Linked DNA regions of Homo sapiens: region 1 is linked to region 2. Evidence: promoter capture Hi-C in 16 types of primary human blood cells and fetal thymus (Javierre and others, 2016). All regions are on one chromosome and are shown on one strand. The core of a region is centred on a gene start or on the middle of the fragment in contact, and the rest is flanking DNA. Distances in the headings are between cores, read along the strand shown. Region 1 overlaps WDFY3 (WD repeat and FYVE domain containing 3). Region 2 holds the start of WDFY3-AS1 (WDFY3 antisense RNA 1).

Region 1 (4,326 bases), core at 1,444-3,943, 78 kb before region 2:
GGCGTGGTGGCAGGCGCCTCTAGTCCCAGCTATGCAGGAGGCTGAGGCAGGAGAATGGTGTGAACCAGGGAGGTGGAGCATGCAGTGAGCCTAGATCGTGCCACTGCACTCTAGCCTGGGTGACAGAGCAAGACTCCATCTCAAAAAAAAAAAAAAAAAAATGCAGATCCTATTGAGGGTTTCCATGGCATGTATCAATTTTAAAATAATACATTTTCGGCCGGGCGCGGTGGCTCACGCCTGTAATCCCAGCACTTTGGGAGGCCAAGGCGGGCGGATCATGAGGTCAGGAGATCGAGACCATCCTGGCTGACACAAGGAAACCCCGTCTCTACTAAAAAAATACAAAAAAATTAGCCTGGCGTGGTGGCGGGCGCCTATAGTCCCAGCTACTTGGGAGGCTAAGGCAGGAGAATGGTGTGAACCCGGGAGGCGGAGGTTGCAGTGAGCTGAGATCATGCCACTGCACTCCAGCCTGGGCGACAGAGTGAGACTCTGTCTCAAAAAATAAAAATAAAAAATAAAAAATAAAATAAAATAAAACAATACATTTTCAGAATAAAGAAACATGATAAAACAGTACTACTAAATTGACTCACCTGCAGGAGATATCTCCTTTTATGAACTTCCTTGATATCTTCATATGCAAAAATGCTGCATGTTCTCTTGAGTTGACTAGGGCCTTGCCTGGCTCCTCTAGGAATAATAGGCTCATGCATACTACAGGCAGCCAAGAGAAAAAGCAAATAAAAACACAGCAAGGGATAAATTCACTGTTCCATAAAGGGCGTGCTAATTTTAAACACATGAACAGGATGGAGGAGTAATATATATCAGAATTTTCAGTTAAAAAATATATTTACAAGAAGAATTTGTTAGCTACCTGAGATACAAGGAACCCCCTTTGATGAATATAATTTTAAAAATCCCCTTATTACTGTCAGGACCAAGTTATCTACCAGACATGGTTAGCACAGTGCCTCAGCTCACATATTTTGGGGCCCAAGAAAATGTCTTAATTTCTTTTAAAAATCAGAAAAAAAATCAACTTTTAGGTAGAAAAACACATTTTAATATAAGATTATATTTATACCATTAGCCACAACATACAATTTTAAATATTTTTGTATGGAAAAAGGACCCACGAAAGACTTCATGTGACCCTGATTGTTGTTGACAGTAATTATTTGAAATATCTCCTAGGAATGAACTACAGAAACAATGTCTGTGTTCAAGGGTGCTAGGAAAATGTTAAAGGAAGAGAAGCAGCCTGTTGATCTTCTAAGCCCTAAGCTTCTTAACTTTCTTCTAGGTTGGTCTGTCTCCTGAGTTTTCCACTACTCACTACCACTTTCATCACAGGACTGGTAGAAGAAAAGGAAGATGCCTACAACTCAGTCAGTAAATCTCTGCTAATGCTTTAGTCATGCTGTTTCTAGGGTGCTCCGAGTACCTGATGATGCTCTTTCATTTTTAAGAGTATTCTTCACGCCTGTAATCCCAACACTTTGGGAGGCCGAGGCGGGCGGATCACAAGGTCAGGAGATTGAGACCATCCTGGCTAACATGGTGAAACTCTGTCTCTACTAAAAATACAAAAAATTAGCCTGGCGTGGTGGCGGGCGCCTGTAGTCCCAGCTACTCGGGAGGCTGAGGCAGGAGAATGGCATGAACCCGGGAGGCGGAGCTTGCAGTGAGCCGAGATTGCGCCACTGCCACTCACTGCACTCCAGCCGGGGTGACAGAGTGAGACACTGTCTCAAAAAAAAAAAAAAAAAAAAAAAAAAGAGTATTTTCTCTACAATTGTATATCTGCTATATTTTTTAAAAGGACCATTTATAAATTCAGAATAAATTTGTAAATATATACATTATAATATAAATAACTCAGAATGCACAGAAATAAATGTTATTTAGCTTTCATCTTGATAAATAAGCCAAACATTTTCATTATTACCTTAAAATAACTGAATATCATCTTTGTGAATATGTAATGATGAATGCACACAAACCGAGAGATAACATTACCTAGAACACAATTTTTTGATTAAAAAAGAAAACTGCAAATACATTTTCTGTCTTCTAAAGATAGCCATACATTATGTCTCTTCATTCATTTACTTACTTTGGAGGTAAGGTTTCAATATCTCTTATTTCCCTGGTTGCTGTCATGGTAAATCCATCAATCACATAAAAATGCTCTTTACCAAAAAGAAGGAGCCCCTCACTGGTATCTAGGCCCTGGACTCGAGCACAGCGGTACATGTGTTGGATCTATAAAGAAGCCCACAAACATTCATTAATATAGGCTTTTTGTAAAGATCAATTTTTGTTAGACTACTACGGCATCCCTAGAGCTAAGCATATTAAATCAGAGTTTAAGCATATTGAGAAGATTAAGCTTAGATTACAGTCTGATTTACATCTGACTAGAGTAAAACTAAACAATTCACTCATACCCATCCACTCATCTGCCAATCCCATCTCTCTCAATATTCCGGGTGTACTTTATGTAGGCCAGGCAAACATGCGCTAGCTTCTAAAAGTCAAGAACATTAGATAAGGCTCCTGCTCTCATGAAGGGAGACAGACACAGCAAACTTGGCAGGAAAGGGAATTGAGGCATACATGTAAGGAGATTAGAATAGGATTGTGTTCTATGTGAGGCAAGATGATACAGAGTGAAAATTGCAGGGCCTGCTAACTCAGGGTAAATTTCCAGTTCTGCCACTTTGTAGACTGGGTCAAGTTTCTTAATTTCTCTGAGCCTCCATGTCTTTTTTTGTAAGTTTCTAATTGGCTTGTTGTGAAAAATAAGTGAGATAATGTACATAATCAGGTTAGGAATTATTGGTTGCTTTCTGTTCCACACAGTTTACCTTCTTTTTCCATCATACCCCCTGGAAATGGAACTGTAGAATTTGTTTCTATTCATTCCCCACCTGGATTCTGCTCCCTGGAGACTACTGTACTATTGCAAAAAGCCAAGCTTGGCAGAAGTTGTATTTTCCTCATAGGAAGGAGCATTGCTAAATCTCTCAAAGTAAGTATTGTTTTCTCCCAAAGGGCAGTATCTAATTCTTTCTAAAAACTCTTTCTTGCTTAAACTTAGTTCAACATGAGTCAAGACAAAAATCAGCAATTAAATCAGAGTCAAACACATGTCAGTTTGAATACACTTCCTGCACTATTAAAGCAACCAGAGCAAAAACTGTACTCATGAGATTAAAAGTTTTAAAAATGAAAGCATTGTAATAGGTTTTCTAAAATATCTAAATATAAGTCAATTTTCATTGCTACATTTGATCAATCCTGATGTACTTTAAAAGTTTCTCTATTGCAGTATATTTTATGCATATACATACATACATACATATATTATATATAAACACATACATATACACACACACACAAAATGTTTATTTCCTAAGTGTATGGCTGGATGAATTTTCAAATGCTAAAAATTTTGTGTGACCAGCATCCAGACCAAGAAACAGAATGCTCCCCAGTTCCTAGAAGCCTCTCTTGTGCTTCCTTCATACCTGGTGTACTTTTATAGTTACATGATCTTTTCTAATGTATTGTCATTCAATATTAATTAGGGCATACATTTGAACGGAACTGTTTTGATTATACTCAAATTTCTAGTGACTACTTCTTAGAGGGTAAGAACTCAAAGGTTATACCAAGATCTAATATAATAGGCAAAAGAACATCCTTTAAAAAGGTGATATTCATGACACATTCAAGTCATTCATTCCCTTGTTTATTAAACCAATCATTCCTTCATTCAAAGGTTTACTGGTTGTCTATTATGCAACTGGACCTGTGTAAGGCAATGAGATAGAGATAAGACACAGTTTGCCTATAAGGAGCTCGACATCTAGGACGAGAAAGAAAGATACTGGAACAAGTAATTATGACATGATAATACAGAGTGATATATATAAGGCATCATGAAAGTATAGAGGAAGGGTATGCAACCAAGCCTGAGTAGCAAAAGAGTCAAAAAAAGCTTCCTATGTTTGAATATTACAAACATCCAGATAAATGGGATTATAACACACAGGATTTATTAGGATAAAGGTTATGCAAGTAAAAGGAAGGGGGCATTTTGGCAGAAAAAAACAATATGAGTGACACGGTTTGCATATGTGTCCCCTCCACATCTCATGTTGAAATGTGATCCCCATTGTTGGAGGTGCGGCCTTATGGGAGGTGTCTGGGTCATGGGGGTGGGCCCTTCATGAATGGCTTGGTGTTGTCCTGGCGGTAATGAGTCCTTACTCTATCAGTTCACACAAGAGCTCCTTTTCTCACTATGTG
Region 2 (4,679 bases), core at 1,983-4,482:
AAACTTTGACTTCACAGTCCTTGAGATAAAAAGACTTAAAGCAATACTAGTTCATTATTTTTTCCCATGAAGAGCTGGTCAAGTACAAAGATCAAAGGTGAAACACTGGAGAATACTACTTCTGAGGGGCAGATAGAAGAGAAAGCGATTGAAGGAAATTGCAAAACAAAGATCAGAGAAATAGTGAGTATTCTCAAATGCAAGACTGGAGGTAGTTTTAATTAGGACGAATTAGTCAACAGGACTACATGCTACTAAAGGGGCAAATAAAGCGTCATAACAAGAATTTTAAAGTACTAACTATATTGATGCCTAGCTCTGTGCTAGGTACCATGAGGAATACTACAACCTTACAATCTAATTAAAAGACTAACATTCATATTATATTAATATTTATTGAACACCAACCACATGTCAATTAATATGTGATATTATTTTACTTAGCTAAAAGAACAAAATTAGATGACCAAAAAAATCACATTTATACAAAATGCTTATATTCTTGAGCAAAGAAAATTAAGTAAATTGAGATTTATATTTTAAATTATTTATCATTTAGCAGGATCTTCATGAATGCCTTGAGTTTGGAGTTCTACTGTACAGCACTGTAAAGTCATGGCATGTTGGAGAAAACTAAGGAATTAGAATTATAAAATAGTATGTATTACATCTTGAAGGTAAGTGATGGATAAGGTAATTGAAATGTTATTGTGGCTAGCACAGTGTGGCACATATGGCAGGCAGGTGCTCAATGAATATTAATTAATTAAGCAGAATTCACAGCCAATGATAATCCTTACCAAAATACATCAAACAAGCAACCTGCTTTCCTAGGAAAAGCTGTGATTTCTTGGCAAGTAGAGATTAGTCCTTATTAGGTACTCACTCCCTCCACTGTTTTGTAAGTCTCTTTTGAAAGTGCCTTAAAATTCACTGGTAAGCAATATTCAATGTTTTATGTAACTTGTTCTATGCTATAATAATTTAAGCTGAAAAGTTATTATTAGCTGGACTTTTAAAATAAATACAAAAATGAAGTTTTAATACTTCTATAATCAAAAGAAGAAAACAAAAAAAAATACTGACCATAATTTTGGAGGAGTTCCTCTTTGGTGGAAACAATCAGAGATCGGTCTTTTGCTGATAGAACTATTGCAAGGCACACGTAATGTTGCTCAGAAGAATTTGCTCGGCGCACAACAGTAAGAAGTCTGACAGGGTGGTTATTTGGAGGAGAACTAAAATGTTCAATACAAAACCAGCTAGAGTAACTTAAGCCGGAGGGAGGAGGGAAGAATCTTTCACCTACAGTAAAAATTAAAAAAAAAAGTCTGTGTTGATTAATATTTATATTTTTTAAAAGATGCCAACAAAAGCAAATAAACTCTAAATTATATATAATCTACTAGAAAAAAAACTCATAAGCAGAAAGCAAATATTACTTACCAGAACCAATGCCACTGACCACAGCCCCATCAATAAGACCTGTTGTGACGGTATTATTTGTAGGAGCATTATGAGGGGCCAAACTGGGCAAAAAAAGACATCTATTAAAGAAAAGACAACATACATATTAGAGATCAATGACTCCTTCTCTTAACACTGTGCACTTACCACAGTGAAATAACTGCCAGTATTTAATGGTGACTAGAGAAAAGATCATGGAATAAATCTGGATGCCTCGCAAAGCCCTTCCCTTCTTTTAATTATGTAAGGGTATCAAAAGACATAATTTTAAAATCTCCCAAAATAACATTTTTAACTTAAAATAAAAAAAAATGAAGATACAAAATGCATATGGCAACATACTCTAACGTATAAACCCAATCAAGACATTAGAACAATTTCATCACTGAAGGAAAACTCCCATGTGCCCCTTACTGTCACTCTCTTGTTACCACTGATTGCTTTTGACTATTCCCAATCATGTTTTAATCTATTGTTTGATAATGACCCATGATAATATTCTTAAAACACAGAGGTTTCAATCAATATAAGAATCCCACAAACAACTAGTATAGATAAAAATTATGAATTAACACTCTAAGCCTGGGCACAGTGGCTCACGCCTATAATCCTAGCACGTTGGGAGGCTAAGGTGGGCAGATCACTTGAGGTCGGGAGTTCGAGACCAGCCTGGCCACTATGGCGAAACCCCATCTCCACTAAAAATACAAAAATCAGCCAGGCGCGGTGGCGTGCGCCCATAATCCCAGCTACTTGGGAGGCTGAGGCAGGAGAAATGCTTGAACCTGAGAGGCGGAGGTTGCAGTGAGCCAAGATCGCGCCATTGCACTCCAGCCTGGGTGACAGGGCAAGACTCTGACTCAAAAGGAAAAAAAAAAAACAAAACTCTAATAGCTAACAGATCTAGCTACCAGATCTATTAGCATTTGTGTCTATTTTAGGCTGTTGAACTTCATGAATTCTTATAGATTTTTTAGATTCATTATTGCCATTTCTGTTACTATAATCTTTTCTGCCACTTGAAATAATTTATTCATTTGAAGTGACAGTCATTGAATATTTATAATGTATAAATTATTATACTAGGTAATTTGAAGGATAGATGATGATAAAACCCAAAGAGTTTTCAATCTAATTTTAATTTATATATTATCTATACATTTATATTTATTACATTAGATGTTGGCAGACTTTTTCTGGAAAGGGCCAAATCATAAATATTTAATGCTTTGTGAACCAGGCAGTCTCCATCATGACTACTCAACTCTGACACTCTAGCACAAAAGCAGCCATAGGAAATATAAATGAGTGTGGCTGTTTTCCAATAAAACTTCATTTACAAAAAAAAAAAAAATTTGCAAAAGTGTTACTAACAAAACAGATTTGGTCCATGGGCCTAAGATTTTGGATTCCTATGTCATATCAATTTATTTTGTATAACAAACAAAAATAATTAAATGTAGTAATCTTAAAATAGCATGCTCAAAAAACTCAATAATTAAAAAATATTAAGTATGGTAAAATATATTTTAATTAAGTATATTTAAAACCAAAGATCTATTTGTAAAGGCAAGTATGACGCATAAAACCATAAAGGTTGGCTTCCTTGCAAATTTCTTACCCAAACCCTTCAAGTGATGTGTCAAATTCAACAAAAGCTGGAGTAACTGATGACCCATGAAGTCTGATGTCATGTGGGGTTGTCATGGAGACCAGACACTTCACCCTGGTCAGGGGTACAGTACTTCCTTCCGCAGATTTTACCAGGCTCTTGCTTATCCGGTAATGGTTATCTTCATGTAAGCTAAAAACATTATCAGTACCCAGACCTTCCAGAGATGTGATCATACTACCTGTAAGTCAAGGAAATCTCTTGGGAAAATGTCATATGGAATTTCAAAATAACTTTACAAGGCTGATTTATTTGTAAATACCACTTCAGTTTCAATAGACAATAATTTTTTTTTAAGTGCCAAGATCATTATCCAGTTTTAATGTACATTTACTTTTAAACTTAATAGCATGCGTTTCCTTTTTTACTAAAGCAATATGCACACTGCAGAAATGTTGGAAACTAGAGTATAAATAAAAATAAACATCTCAAATAATTGTCATCAAAGCCACTGATACAATGTAATTTAATTATAAATCTCAGTTAATAGTTTACAAATCAGGAAATACTTTTATTTCATAAAACTATGATTTATTAATTCTCTTTGAGGGAAAAGTAAACAATTTTAGACCATTAAAATGAAAAGAAATAGGTCATCTTTATTATAAAACAAATTAGAGATAAATGGCAGAAACTTGCTTCTCCCATTTTTTCCCCATTATTAATTCTTTCCTTACAATTATTAGAACTAAATGCATGATCGTAAAAGTACTTTAATTTAAAGATTCCCATATTTATAAAAAGGGTAACAATTTCAAGAATAAAAAGACAAATTCTAAACAGATTGTCATTATCTCTCCAGGGACACATTACAAATGTAATGAAGAAAATATTCTCTCTCGAAATAAACTACATGAGTATAGGAAACTGTTTTCCTCCTAAATGTGCTGGATATTCAGGCAACTACAAAGATATTTCAAATATTCTCTTAGGGAAAGGAACTATTTTTGTTTCTACTCTTAGCAAAGGAAATCACAACTCAATTCTTATTTATTTATTTATTTATTTATTTATTTATTTATTTTTTGAGACGGAGTCTTGCTCTGTCGCCCAGGCTGGAGTGCAGTGGCGCGATCTCGGCTCACTGCAAGCTCTGCCTCCCGGGTTCACGCCATTCTCCTGCCTCAGCCTCCCGAGTAGCTGGGACTACAGGCGCCTGCCACTGCGCCCGGCTAATTTTTTTTGTATTTTTTAGAAGAGACGGGGTTTCACCATGGTCTCGAACTCCCGACCTCGTGATCCGCCCGTCTCGGCCTCCCAAAGTGCTGGGATTACAGGCGTGAGCCACCGCGCCGGGCCTGTTTCCCTATTTAAATAATAAACCCTTCTCTTTCTTTGCTTTCACAAACTTCTTGAAATAATATTCATCCCCTACATGATTTTCATTCATAAAATAAATCAAAAAAGGGAATTTCAAAACTTACTTCTCATTTCTGGTTCATAACTCAGTGAACTTGGTTTGTGGACCCTATATTGTTTTAGCAGTTTTTTGTCCCAGGCACCACAATTTAAAGGACTTGCCAAACGTAAAAACTCCCTA

Evidence for each region. Contacts are between HindIII fragments. The CHiCAGO score rates a contact against its expected background, and 5 or more counts as called.
Region 1: a fragment that was not itself captured here is called in contact with the fragment with the promoter of WDFY3-AS1 in region 2 in 1 of 17 cell types (M2 macrophages); the score reaches 5.2 in M2 macrophages.

The regions. Positions count from the first base shown.
Region 1 is chr4:84,716,297-84,720,622 of GRCh38, forward strand. It overlaps WDFY3 (WD repeat and FYVE domain containing 3), which reads right to left. Exons shown (of 68, transcript NM_014991.6): 48 at 2,126-2,274; 49 at 600-720. Among named protein-coding and RNA genes, the nearest start is that of WDFY3-AS1, 78 kb to the right of the region's middle. The HindIII fragment of the contact is 588 bases long and covers 2,400-2,987 here.
Region 2 is chr4:84,793,433-84,798,111 of GRCh38, forward strand. WDFY3-AS1 (WDFY3 antisense RNA 1) reads left to right here and starts at 3,233. Exons shown (of 3, transcript NR_046707.1): 1 at 3,233-3,322. WDFY3 (WD repeat and FYVE domain containing 3) reads right to left here. Exons shown (of 68, transcript NM_014991.6): 18 at 4,564-4,676; 19 at 3,089-3,320; 20 at 1,447-1,547; 21 at 1,087-1,305. The HindIII fragment of the contact is 11,821 bases long and covers 1-4,679 here.